2 separate regions of the Homo sapiens genome follow, and region 2 is linked to region 1. The links are contacts of gene promoters, found by promoter capture Hi-C in blood cells and fetal thymus (Javierre and others, 2016). All regions are on one chromosome and are shown on one strand. Each heading gives the region's core, a stretch centred on a gene start or on the middle of the fragment in contact. The rest is flanking DNA. Distances are from core to core; before and after follow the strand shown. Region 1 holds the start of KLF13 (KLF transcription factor 13). Region 2 overlaps TRPM1 (transient receptor potential cation channel subfamily M member 1).

The links. The method cuts DNA at HindIII sites, captures the fragments that hold promoters and counts their contacts. A CHiCAGO score of 5 or more calls a contact.
Region 2: a fragment that was not itself captured here is called in contact with the fragment with the promoter of KLF13 in region 1 in 2 of 17 cell types (total B cells and neutrophils); the score reaches 6.9 in total B cells.

What each region holds. Positions count from the first base shown.
Region 1 is chr15:31,322,682-31,329,257 of GRCh38, forward strand. It overlaps KLF13 (KLF transcription factor 13), which reads left to right and starts at 4,154. Exons shown (of 2, transcript NM_015995.4): 1 at 4,154-5,108. The coding sequence starts at 4,532. RefSeq lists a promoter at 3,279-4,335 and an enhancer at 3,363-3,876. The HindIII fragment of the contact is 12,301 bases long and covers 1-6,576 here.
Region 2 is chr15:31,018,593-31,025,168 of GRCh38, forward strand. All of the region lies in intron 27 of TRPM1 (transient receptor potential cation channel subfamily M member 1), which reads right to left. Among named protein-coding and RNA genes, the nearest start is that of TRPM1-AS1, 5.0 kb to the right of the region's middle. RefSeq lists an enhancer at 5,814-6,108. The HindIII fragment of the contact is 710 bases long and covers 3,442-4,151 here.

The DNA of each region.
Region 1 (6,576 bases), core at 2,904-5,403:
AGAAATAAACCTTTGAGCTTTGCAGTGTGGCCCAGCCTCTCCTGACTGATACAGGGACTCTGTTCATTCTACCTCTTGAAGACGTGTTCCTGGAGCTGCCGATCTGCTCCAGCCTGGGCTGCTGACACTCTGCACCTGGCTGGGCAGCTATCACCTGGGACTTACTTTCCCTTCCATCCTGCAATGACTTCCCTGCTTTGTGGATCACGTCTCCTGCTTTCTTGGTTTACATCTTTGTTTTGATGAAGTATAATCTCTGGTGGCTTCCTACTATGAGAAAGGATGCATGGGGGATAAATTTTTTGAAACCTCATGCGTCTGAAAAATACTTGGTTTATAGTTTGGCTGGGTGAAGGCTGGAAAATAATTTTCCTTTACATTTATTTCCCATGGCTTTGTTCCCTTCCTTCTAACTTCAACTGGTTGTTGTGGAGAGGCCCACAGTCATTCTGACCCGACTATCCGTAGGTGACCTGTTTTAATGTTAGGACACTTTTGTCCCCTGCATTCTGAAACTCACCAATGATATGCCTTGGCGTAGAGCTATTCTTTCCCACTGTGTTGGGCTCTCTCCCTTTCAGCATATGTCGTGAAGGCCTCTCTTGGATTAATAATTCATTGACGATTTTCTCTCTTGTGTTTTCTCTGATCACCTGTTTGGGTCCCTACTCATTGATCAATAATTTTTTTGGTTGGTCCACTAATTTAGCTTTTCTCTACTTTCCATTTTTTAAAAAAAATTTTGGTTCTACTTTCAAGGAGGTTTTTTACTTTTACATTTCTGTTACCTTGTAAACATCTCAAGAACACTTTTTTTCCCCTGAATGTTTCTTTATATATGTTCTCCCTTCACAGGTTGTATGTCTTTTAAAATTTAATGACATTATTGATGGTTTTGTTGATGTTTCTTTCTTTCTGCATAGTCTGTTTCTTCCAACTTGCTTTTTAAAAACTCTATTGTGGCTTTGTATTTCATGACACAGGGTTTCCTGAGATGCCGGTCAGCTCTGGCTCCCTGCTTGTCCTTGGCCTGGGAGGGACTGAGAGGCTGATGAGAACTTCTGTGCACATGAGTGGCAGTGTTAACTGTGGCCTTCCCTATAGGGTGAGCTGGCTGTTTAATTGGGCAGCCACAAATGTTAGAATGTCTGGGTGTTTCCCCTTGGCATGGTTGGCTACCCCAGGAAAGACCCTTCTAGTCTCCTGGCTGCTTGCATTCTGAAATCCCAAAAAGGGGTTTGTGGGTCTCAGCATCCAGTATCCATGTGTGTATTTAATCCCCTGATCCTATTACCGTACCTCTGTCCTTAATTGTGCCTGGTGTCCACCTACCCAAGACGCTGCCTTTTAGTTTTTTCAGGTCATAAATATCCAGCCTTTCGTCAGAACAAGGAAGGGGCAGTTGTCAGGCTGCATGAAATTGGGGTGCAGATATGGGCATCTGAGTGCTCCTCAAGCTGACGTTCTGCCAATCTTATTTTCACCCCCGTTTACTCTCACATTCAGAGGTACGTAGTGCCACCCATTAGTGAACCTTCTGGGGGATTCCATGGAGTATGTTCTTAGCTTTCCTTCCTAGCTACTATCTCAGGGTTTCATTTTCTTGGATCTGCTAAGTATTTTAGCTTCAAGAACTGCGTTGCTGTTACTTCCTCTCTTGTTCTCCCTGTCTTTGTGGATTTCTGCCTTCTAACAAATGCTCCAGAAGGAAGTTAAAGTCAATACATACTAACCATCCACCAACTTTACCCAGAAACTCAACCACCCTTTCAGCCTTCAGTCTCTATACGCCCCAGACACACCTGCTCTGCTTTTCTGTTGCTTCCATTTGAAACGAGACGACCCAGCCCTCACATATACATATGCCATCTCTGTCAAAATCTTACTTAGAAAAGAAAACATGGACTCTTAGCTAAGAGGAGATTTTCTTTGGGGAAGAGCTGTCTGTCCGGAAGACCCTTCCATGTAGGTTTGGGATAAAGTCAGTGAACACCACGACAATCATCAAATGAGTGGATTTTTGAGAAACCAGCCAAGGAGCTCAGTTTTCTATACAGAATGCCACAGAGCACAGTCAAAATTCTTTGGGACCCACATTCTTGGAAAACTCTTAGGGGGGTGCATCAATGCAGAGGACCCTTGACCACGTAGGGCATCCCCTCACCCAAGGCAGGCCTGTTTTGTTCATGGCTGTAGTAGCCTAATACTAGAATAGTGCAGACTCTAGACGGCCTACCATTGTGTATGCCGGCTGGGGTGACCCAGTGGGGAGACGTGGCACCTTGAAGATTGGGGAGAATTCTGCTGGCTGGAAAGGGGCCAGGAGGGTATGGGTGGCTGATAAGCTGGTGTAGGACCACTCCTTCCTTAAGAAGTGACTAATTGTGACATGTGGTGGGAATAGAGGAACATTCCGAATCATTACTTGGTCAGGACACACGTCTCTTATTAAATGTCATCAACACAATCTGCCTGGAAGAAACACGATTACTTTCTACCAAGCACAGACCCTCCTAAAGGGACCAGACCCAGTCCAGCACCTTTAGTCTCCCCAGAGGGTAGCAACTCAATCAGCGAGACCGCATTTCAGGGTTTTAGTTACAGATACTGAGGGTGCTCAAACATCCATGCAGTTTGCTGTTCACCGTAACACGCAACCCAGAATGGCCGTTTCGGTCCCTCGTCGGTTACCTGAAAACCAGTCTTACTGAGCTCCAACCCCAAATTAATTTGGTGAGAACTCGAACTCGGCTATTAACCTTAATTCTGAGAGAAGAATGACACCCCCCTCCCACTGCGAGGGTCCACTGAGGGTGAGTGCCCGGGCTCCTTCATTCTCCAGGCTCCTCTCAGAACACAGCAAGGGTGGCTGACTCCTTCGAACGTCCATTAAGCACAATGCAACGGGGCGAGGCAGTAGGGGGTTTGCTGAGCCCGGTTCCGCGGCGGTGGGAAGTTATTCACCGGCGTCTCCGAGGACGGCCCAGGCCTGGAGAATGGCTGGGGCCGCGGGCTGGGGTAGGGGTTACCGTGAGAGTCAAGGGCAAGGTGGCCCAGCCCGGGCTGGGAGGCGCGGGCTGGGCGCAGCCGAGCATTTCCTCCGGGAGGCCCAGACAGCGGGCGGGTGGGGCGCGGTGGGCGGGGTCCTCGCAGCTGGTGGCGTTTGAAGCCCCCCCGACCGCGGTGGGAGAGGGGCAGCCTAGAAGAGTTGGCAGCGGGCCTGCGGCGGGATGGGGAGGAAGGGGCCCCGCGTTCCCTCAGCAGCGGCGCCGGCCGCCCTGGCACGTAGTTCGCTTCTGGAGGCACAGGCCGCGGTGGGCGCGCCACCCGGGCTGCCAGGCTCACCGCCAGCCGAGGCCAGTCCTGCTCGGGCTGACCCGAGCTGAAGGGCAGCGCGGCCGCACCCCGGACCCCAGGAACGAGCCCGAGTCTGTCCCTCCCGCGGGAGCTGCCCCGCCCGGACTCCCGGAGCTCTGCAAGGCAGGGGCGTGGGGAGGGCGAGCGGCCTGAGGCTCTAGGCGCGGCCACCCGGCAAGCCGGCGGCGGAGGGCGCGGCGCGAGTGCGTTCCGCCCCTAGGCAGCCCCGCGCCCGGCCGGGCAGACACGCCTCCCCGCCGGCGCCCATCGCGGGAGGAACAAATGGCGCCCTCCAGAAACCGCTCCCCTCCATGCCGGGGGCCAAGGCTGTCACCACATAAAAGCTCCGGCAGAGAAGTGCTCGCTGTGTCCCCGCCGCGGGGGGTACAAGCAGCCGCTCCGCGCCGCGACTACCCGGCCCGCCGCCCCCGGACGTCATGCGTCAGCGCGCCCCGCTCCAGTTTCCGCCCCTCCTCCCACCGGCCCAGGGGACACGCCCACTGGCGCGCGCAGGGCCCGGGACCGGGCACGCCCCTCTAACGGCTCGGATTGGCCTGGCCGTGCACTCACGGACCAATGGCGTCTGTCCCGGCCCTCGGTCACGCCCCCTTGCCCAGGCGCGGGCACGCGACCGCTCCGTTCCGCCGGTGCGCGCTCTGGGGTCCCCGCCCCCTCCGCGCGCGCAGCTCCCCGCAGCCGCCGCCGCCTGTAACCTGCGCCGCCAGGATGTGGCTGGGGGCTGACGTCGGGTCCAGATGTGGCCCCGGCCCCGCCCACCCCCGGGGCCGGGCCGCCCACACGGAGCCGCGGCGCGCACGGCAGCTGTCCCGCCTGCCACAATGCGCGGCGAAGCTGCGGCCGCGACTTGGCGAGGTGGTCCCTAACGTTGCCGCTCGGCATCCTTAGAACCGGCCGCCCCTGACGCCGCGCGGGGACCCCAGTCGCCCGCGCGCCCCATGCGCTCACTCTTCGGTGCCCGGCCGGGCCGGCGCCTCGCAGACGCGGAGCCGCGCGGGTGACGGCACAGGCGGCTGCGCGCCCAGCCCAGCCCAGCCCAGCCCGAGGAGAGGGCGCGCCGCGCCCCCGCCCCCCGCCCGCTCTCCCGAGGCCGTGGGTGCGGATGCGCGGCTGACGACTCGCAGCAAGAGCACCGCCGCCGGCCCCAGCCCGCAGCATGGCAGCCGCCGCCTATGTGGACCACTTCGCCGCCGAGTGCCTCGTGTCCATGTCGAGCCGCGCGGTCGTGCACGGGCCGCGGGAGGGGCCGGAGTCCCGGCCCGAGGGCGCGGCCGTGGCCGCCACCCCCACGCTGCCCCGCGTCGAGGAGCGCCGCGACGGTAAGGACAGCGCCTCGCTCTTCGTGGTGGCGCGGATCCTAGCGGACCTCAACCAGCAAGCGCCGGCGCCCGCCCCGGCGGAGCGCAGGGAGGGCGCCGCGGCCCGGAAGGCGAGGACCCCCTGCCGCCTGCCGCCGCCCGCCCCCGAGCCCACCTCCCCCGGCGCCGAAGGCGCGGCGGCCGCGCCCCCCAGCCCGGCGTGGAGCGAGCCGGAGCCCGAGGCGGGGCTGGAGCCCGAGCGGGAGCCGGGGCCCGCGGGGAGCGGCGAGCCCGGCCTCAGACAAAGGGTCCGGCGGGGCCGAAGTCGCGCCGACCTCGAGTCCCCGCAGAGGAAGCACAAGTGCCACTACGCGGGCTGCGAGAAAGTTTACGGGAAATCTTCGCACCTCAAGGCGCACCTGAGAACTCACACAGGTCAGTGGGGCGGCGCGGGCGCCCGGATCGCGCGGACGGGGTCGGCGCGAGCTGCCCGACCACGCCCCCGGAGTCCCCGATGGGGCGCGAGGTGGGGGCCGGGCGGGCCGGAACGCCCGGGGCCTCGCCCCTTCCCCTGCCGCTCCGACCCGCGGCTGGCCCCGCGCGTCGCGCGAGGCGGGTCTTGGCTCTCGGAGCCGGCGCCCGCCAGGCGACCGCGCCCCCGCCGGGCACGCCCCCTCCCCGGGCGCGCTCGGGTGGGGCCGCGGGGGCGGATATAGTCATCTGGGCTGGGGGCGGGGACCCCTCCCGGCCGGGAGGCGGCGCGGGCAGGTGCGGGCGGCCTGGGTGTGGACCGCAGGCGGCACTCGTGACGGTGGGGCGCCCGGAGCGGGGGCAGGGGACGCTCTCCGGGGTCCCTCCTCGTTTCCTCCCCCGCTGCCCGGGCGCGCGCTCAGGAGGGGAGGGGCCGGCCCCGGCGCGCGGCGGGCGAAGTTCACGCAGGGACAAGGTTTCCTTCGCCACTCGGCACATTCTTCGCTCTCTTCTTCCTGTAATTTTTCCAGCGCTCTAAGGTTTAATTTGTCGTAACCAAAGTCAGCGGCGGCGCTTGGCGATGCGGGGGGCGGTCCCGGGTCCCGCTCCCCGCCTGCGGCTCTTTGTGGGAGCCCCCGCCCATCCGGCCCGGCGGGGGCGCGCCCGGCCCTAGGCTCCTCGGCCTCGAGGCTCTCTCCGGAAAGGAATGCCCTGGCCGCTGCCCATCCTCCGTGCTGCCCTCTCGCCTGCCCACCTCTCACCTGCCCTGGGCCGGTGCGGGGCGGGCGGCACCTGCACCAGGGCGGGCGCTGAGCCTCCAGCCTGGGGATCACCGCCCGCCCCCGCCAGCCCAGCGGCAACAGTTCCCACGCGCGGCCCGATACTTTGTAGTTGATTCATCTGTGGCGGTTCCCTCCCCCCTTTTTGTTTCGTTTTTAACATAAAGATGAAAATATTTTAATGGACGGCAATCCTTCCCCATTTTGGTGTAAAGAATTGTATGCTTCCTCTGAGCTCACGTGAGTTCTTCTGTGACACTCACCTCTTCTACCTTGGGGGCAGGCTCAAAACCCGTCTACTGAATACTGTTGTCTTGTGACCAAGGGTGGTGGTCTCTCATTTGTAAAATAGTTCACATAGTGATTAAAAGGCATAAAAAGAAGCTGCAGCCTTGGATACCCTAGAGCTGAAGGCCCCTTTTTTTTACCATTTGGAACTGAAAGGGCCCAAGGTCTGCAGGTGAGGCTTTCAGATCTCGGACTAACTTTCCCCAGGGAGGCTTTTGTGGCCGCTCCAAACCACGTGGCAGGTGATGGGGTAGAGGGTGAGAGCGGGGCCATTTCTAGGCATTCGGGGTCAGTTAAGGGTGTGGGGGCTCAGGTTGGGGGTGGGAGTCAGTGTGGGCTCAGAGTTCAGCTCGGGACGCGGCTGC
Region 2 (6,576 bases), core at 2,547-5,046, 300 kb before region 1:
TAACTCCTGACCTCAGGTGATCCACCTGCCTCAGCACCCAAAGTGCTGGATTACAGGGATGAACCACCACACCTGGCCTTTTTAAATTTTTGAGACAGAGTCTCACTCTGTTGCCCAGGCTGGAGTGCAGGGGTGCAATCTTGGCTCACTGCAAACTCCGCCTCTCCGGTTCAAGTGATTCTCGTGCCTCAGTAGCTGGGATTACTGGCATGTGCCACTACACCCGGCTAATTTTGTAATTTTAGTAGAGATGGAGTTTTGCCATGTTGGCCAAGCTGATCTCGAACTCCTGGCCCCAAGCAATCAGCCCACCTTGGCCTCCCAAAGTGCTGAGATTACAGGCGTGAGCCACTGTGCCCAGCCTAAAACTTGTTTTATATGCAGTTATCTTTTCATGGGAAACAGTTGCCCTTCACCTGCAAGGAATCTCATAAATTATATGGGAACATTTCCTTAATGATAGAGTTAAATGTTAACATAAAGACATGATGTTAGTGGAGCTAGGTCCAGTTCATACTTGAAGAAACCCCTGTTTCAAGATCCCATGGTATTCTATACTTGAGTTCTAAAACTATTCCTACCCTATAATTTAATTCCAGAACTACTGATCATAAAGTTGTCTTATCCACTCTAAATTTTACATCCAGCTATTTTAATTTCCATCCACTTCTTCATACAGGGCTGCCTTTTACATTTAGTAGTTATAGGAAGAACACCAGGATAGAACCTTGTTGTGCTTACTTACAGAGTTTTTATGTGTGAAAGACTAAATGAAGACTAATCATAAAAGAACAAGACTCACGTCTTTCTTTTTTTTGTTTGTTTTTGAGAGGGAGTCTCTGTCACGCAGGCTGGAGTGCAATCAGTGGCACTATCTCGGCTCAGTGCAACCTTCGCCTCTCGGGTTCAAGAGATTCTCCTGCCTCAGCCTCCCGAGTGGCTGGGATTACAGATGCTTACCACCACTCCCAGCTAATTTTTGTATTTTTAGTAGAGACAGGATTTCACCATATTGGTCAGGTTGGTCTTGAACTCCTGACCTCAAGTGATCTGCCCACCTCGGCCTCCCAAAGTGCTGGGATTACAGGCTTTCGCCACCATGCCTGGCTAATTTTTGTATTTTTAGTAGAAACGGGGTTTCACCATGTTGACCAGGTTGGTCTTGAACGCCTGACCTCAAGTGATCCACCTTGGCCTCCCAAAGTGCTGGGATTACAGGCCTTTCGCTGCCACACCTGGCTAATTTTTGCATTTTTAGTAGAAAAGGGGTTGCACCATGTTGACCAGGTTGGTCTTGAACTCCTGACCTCAAGTGATCCGCCCACCTCGGCCTCCCAAAGTGCTAGGATTACAGGTGTGAGCCACTGCTCCCGGCCAAGACTCATGTCTTTCTTCTGGCTTTTTCATTCTCTGTAATAAACAGTATACTGAATAGTTACTAAAAGAACATTAAGCTTTCTGGGATTCTAGCTGTATGCTGCCTCATTTAAACATACCCCAGACTTCCTGGGTTTATAGAATTCAAGTCATCTAATCATTAGCCTTTTCTGGTTATGTTCTGTTTTCTATTCAGGCCAGATTCTGTGGTTGGCCACGAAGTGAAGCCCTCATTAATAACCTATGTTCTTTCTCCCTTACTTGCAACACGTTAGTGCCAATCCCTAACCCCCAACCTATTGCTACCAGGACTCCAGGACTAAGCAAGGATATTTGGTGCCTGGAGGCAATGTCGTATGTTTATGCTGCCATTTGCAAACACTAGCATCTTTGAGGTCTCTCCACAGACTGGTTTTTGGGCGCATGGCCTCCTTCAGCATCCATGCCGTATGTACAGTTGTCTTTCTGTATCCCTGCCTTTCGGCTGTACGGTGTCACCGATGAAGGTCATGGGAACCACACTGACCTGGCCCAGTACAAAGCCATGTTATCTAATTTAACTTGCATCTTTGTTATTCCTGCCAAGCAATCCTGGTTATCTCCTTTCCTGCCATATTCCCCCTAAAAGTGAACTCACTTGACTTGAATCCTTCCTACTGGCTTTAAGTCAGTGATGTTGATTGTTGGAGAGGTACACTTTGCCCATGCCTAGTTTTTCTTTCTATGTATGTGGACTTTTCATTAGTAATGCTCTGACCTCATTCCAGGCCTTTATTTATTTTGGAGGAGGACGGCTCATTTGGTTGGAGATTGGGGACCAGGATACTGCATGCTTGTCTCTCTGTCTTGGTCTTCTGGTAGGCTTAGCGCGCAGGCTAAACTCTGCCTGTGGGAAGCGAGGCCTGTGGTGGCTGGTGCTGCCTGTGGCTAAGTGGGTATTCCTAATTCTGGGTGAGTAGTAGGCAAGAACGAAGCCACACCCTCCAGTACAACTTTTATTACTAATAAAACTGATTTTTTTTTCTCTATCCTCCTGAAGTCTGCATCTGTCTCTGAATTGGCTTTCAAAGTCAGATCAGGAACAAGGGTGTCATCCACTGGCACATCAAAATTTCAACATTTAAGCCATCTCCTTCCTATTATCCAAGCAACCTTGAACCCTATGAATTTAGAAGATTAAGGTATTCAGACAGGATCATCCCCAAATGTCTTCCCCATCACTGCGCATTTGCCGTTCTACAACCTTCTCTACATGCAAAGAATCCCCCACCTCCTTCCTAAGACTGATCTCTCTTTCAGTTCCTCTAGTTACTATCTTGTTTCTTCTAGGTAGGTCTCCATTACCAGCCATTTCTCTTTCTGGTCACATGGGAAGAGGATGCCAAATAAAAAGATTTCAAAGCCACAAATTGCTGATTTCCCATCAAGCCTGCAGGCAATCCAGGATGGGGCATGATGTCTCATGCCTGTAATCCCAGCACTTTGGGAGGCTAAGGCGGGAGGACCGCTTGAGGCCAGGAGTTCCAGACCAGCCTGGGCAACATAGTGAGATCCTGTATCTACAAAATATGCAAAAATTAGCTGGGTGTGGTGGTGCACGCCTGTAGCCTCAGCTACTCAGGAAGCTGAGGCAGTAGACTCACTTGAGCCCAGGAACTGGAGGCTGTAGTGAGCTATGATCATCCCACTGTACTCCAGCCTGGGCAACAAAGCAGTACCCTGTCTCTAGAATTAAAAAAAAAAAAAAAAAAGACAAAACACTTTAATCCATATCCACAAATCTGACAAGAAACCACTTAATCCAGAAAGTTTTGGGGGAATCAGAAAATGCTATTATAGGTTTAGCTCATCTAAGACCCATAGCTTCTTAAGCACAAGGCCAACTACACTTAAAATGTATAATTTATGAGTTATATCCTGCATATTGTGAAATGTCAGACATTAATAAAATGTATGTAAATGGAGGTAGACGATATAAAAAAAGCAGAGAAGAGGCAACGTACCCCACATATTTCAAAATCCTATAGTAATATATTTGATAATTTAATATTAAGTTTGGTGTTAAGCTTCCTTGAAGCCATGGAAAAAAGGAAAACACACTGGATAACATAATTCTCATTGAGAAAAGGAAGTTGGGTCTCTGACAAAATTTTGTCAGGAAAGATTCTTTCTAGCCCAATTGCTCTTGAACCTGTGAACCTGTGATAAGGGATGCTGAACCACAAAGAGAACAGTGTGCTCCGTAGTGGATGTGCAGAAGACACAGATAGCCTCAAATCTCCCAATGATAAGGACTCATGTTGCCAAATATTCTCCTGGAGCAATGAGGACAGAACACATGGGTTGACGAGGTCTACTTTGGCCATGCTGCCAGAAGTTGACCAGACATGGTGGCCCATGCCTGTAATCCCAGCATTTTGGAAGGCTGAGGCAGGAGGATAGCTTGAGCCCAGGAGTTTGAGATCAGCCTGGGCAACATAGTGAGACCCTGTTTCTACAAATAATAATAAAAAAGGAGTTGTTTATAAAATGTTCTTATCCCACCAGCCCTCATGGCTCTTTGATGTTATCCCTTTGAGCAAAAAGATGGTGCCAACACCAACACTTGTTATCCTTCCTGTGGCACAATCCTTTGGCTCTTGAGTCTGCTCCTACTTCCTTATAGTAAAACCAGTGTCTTGAACCTGGAGGGAGCATAGCTGGTTTCCTTTTTGATATTCCATGAGGGAACTCATTAAGGATGGGATAGAAATTTATATTCGAATCAGGAGAAAAGCTTTTAAGTCATCCATTCGTTCAAAAAAATCTCGAGGCTGAGGCAGGATTGCTGAGGCCAGGAGTTTGAGACCTGCCTGGGCAACACAGTGAGACTTCCTCTCTACTAAAATAAAAAATAAAAAAAATTAGCTGGGCGTGGTGGCACATACATGTATTCCCAGCTACTTCAGAGGCTGATGCAGAAGGCTCGCTTGAGTCCAGGAGGTTGAGGCTGTGGTGAGACCTGATTGTGCCACTGCACTGGGCACAGAGCGAGACCTTGTCTCAAAAACAAAAACAAAAACAAAAACAGAAACAAAAGTCTGGCTCCTACTATGTGGATATGTGCAGGCTCTAGGTATATCATGGTGGACCAAACCCAGACATGGCCCTGCCTTCATGCAGCTTAAGGCCTGAGGGTCCTGACCTAGTCTAAGGTGTGAGGTGGTGAAGTTTTCCATAAGGAATTGGCATTTGGGCAGAGATCCAAGGAAGAGGAGCAGGGAAGGAGGGTGAGGTGCATCAGACAGAGGGCACAGCCCATGCAGAGCCCCTGTGGCAGGAAGGAAGCAGTGCTTTGAGGAAATGAAAGAGAAATGGAATACAGAGCATGAAGGAGAAGATAGTGCATGGCAAAGCCAGAGAGAGGGCAGGGCCTTGCAGGCCTGAGGACAGTGGGGGCCACAGAGGGTTTTTCAGGAAAGCCAGTGCAGGAGGGAACAGGACCCCATGAGAGCTGACAGTGCAACATGGATTGAAACAGCAGAAACAAATATGGAGAGCTCAGGTAGGGGCAGCTACAGGAATGGAAGTGGAAAATGATGGAAGCCTGTACTAGGTGCGTTGGGGTAGGGATGAAAAAAATAAGTGGATCAGGATGTATTCACGAGGGGAAGTAAACAGAACTTGATGATTGTTAGTGAAGAAGAGGGAGGTGCCACAATGATTTGCCAGTTTGCTAACTGAGCTTAATGGCGATGCCATTCACAGAGACTGGAGTGCAAGTTTGGGAGGAGAACCCTGAGAGCAGGGCCCCTATGACATCTAAGTGGGCGTGGTTGGTAGGACTGACCCAGTGTTGTGTCAATCAATGCTGAATCGTATTGCAAATCTCATTGCAGGACTGAATGTTGGATCTTACAAAATGTTGGAACTTTTTGAGAAAAAATAAATGGTTAAATTGTTAGCATTTTATAGGTAAATTTCCAAACATTAGGAGAGAACCATGAATTTGGTTTCTGCACAGAAGCACTAAAAGCACCCTGCGTGGAGGAGAATGATTAATGGGTACCCATCCTGTGTGAACACGCCTGTAAAACTGAGTCATGAGAATTGGTAGCTCAGCTCTGAAAGCTACCAAGACAACAGGGAGACAAGGCAGGGGCTGACATGCTCCTAACCAGACCCTACAGACTGAATAGTGCTGGCGAAGACACGACCGAGAGAAGAGCAGGAAAATCATCAAATGGGAAATGGTGATGCAGAAAATAAAACTAATTTTATATAGAAAGAATATTAAAGAAATGGCAGAAATGCTTGAGTACTTCAAGTGTGATTTTTAAAGTAGTCACAGGTGCCCAAATAGCTACTTTTATTTCCATCCTCCCACCTTATCCCTTGCTTCTCAGCTGGCTTGGCTAAGAGGGAAGGAAAACTCCCTTCTCCTCAAGCCTTCTCCTCTTTCTGTCTTGGGCATTCACCTGTGAGTCAGCCTGACAAGGCCAAGGGAAATGGAGGGGCAAGAATGTGCTCCCATCGCTCCTGGGATCTCAGCCGAGGGAAACAGGAAGCAGCATGTTTTCTCTGCCCTACACACTTTCATCCCTATTACGTGTGCACAGAGCCCCCAGAGAAAAATGCAATTTGGTAGTGACCTGATAACCACACTCTTGCAGCTTTGGTCCAAGAATGGTAAAAATCCAAGGAATGCCGGGGAAGGGAGAGGGGGAGGCAGAGCAAAACAAAACACAATCTCCATTGTAAATGACTGGTTAAAATTACGTTCAAGTTAATGTCTAACTAAAAAGTGGAAATTGGATTACATGGGGTACCTTAACTTTCTCATGAAGAAATAATTTTTATACCTTGAAAGTTTAGCAATTACTGTTAAAGCATCAAAGAAACATTTCAAAGTTTTATTAAAAATTCACCTTGGTAAGGAAGAAAGGTGGTGCAGGTAACCCTAGAGTTTAGCTGGTTGGATTTGGTTGGGTCACAAGGTGACTGGGTCTAGGAGGGAACCGAGGCCAGGGACCCACAGTTGCCATCTCCCCTCCTGTGGGCTGGGGCAGAGTTCACTGGCCTCAACATGCACCAGGGAGACCTAAGGTGCATCTGTGAATTCTGTTGTAATTGTTTGGGAACTGTCAGCTGCAATATCTTTTTGAAGTCCCACCCTGTTTTTATGGCTCTCAATGTGTCTGTTAGGAAACTTTAATTCTG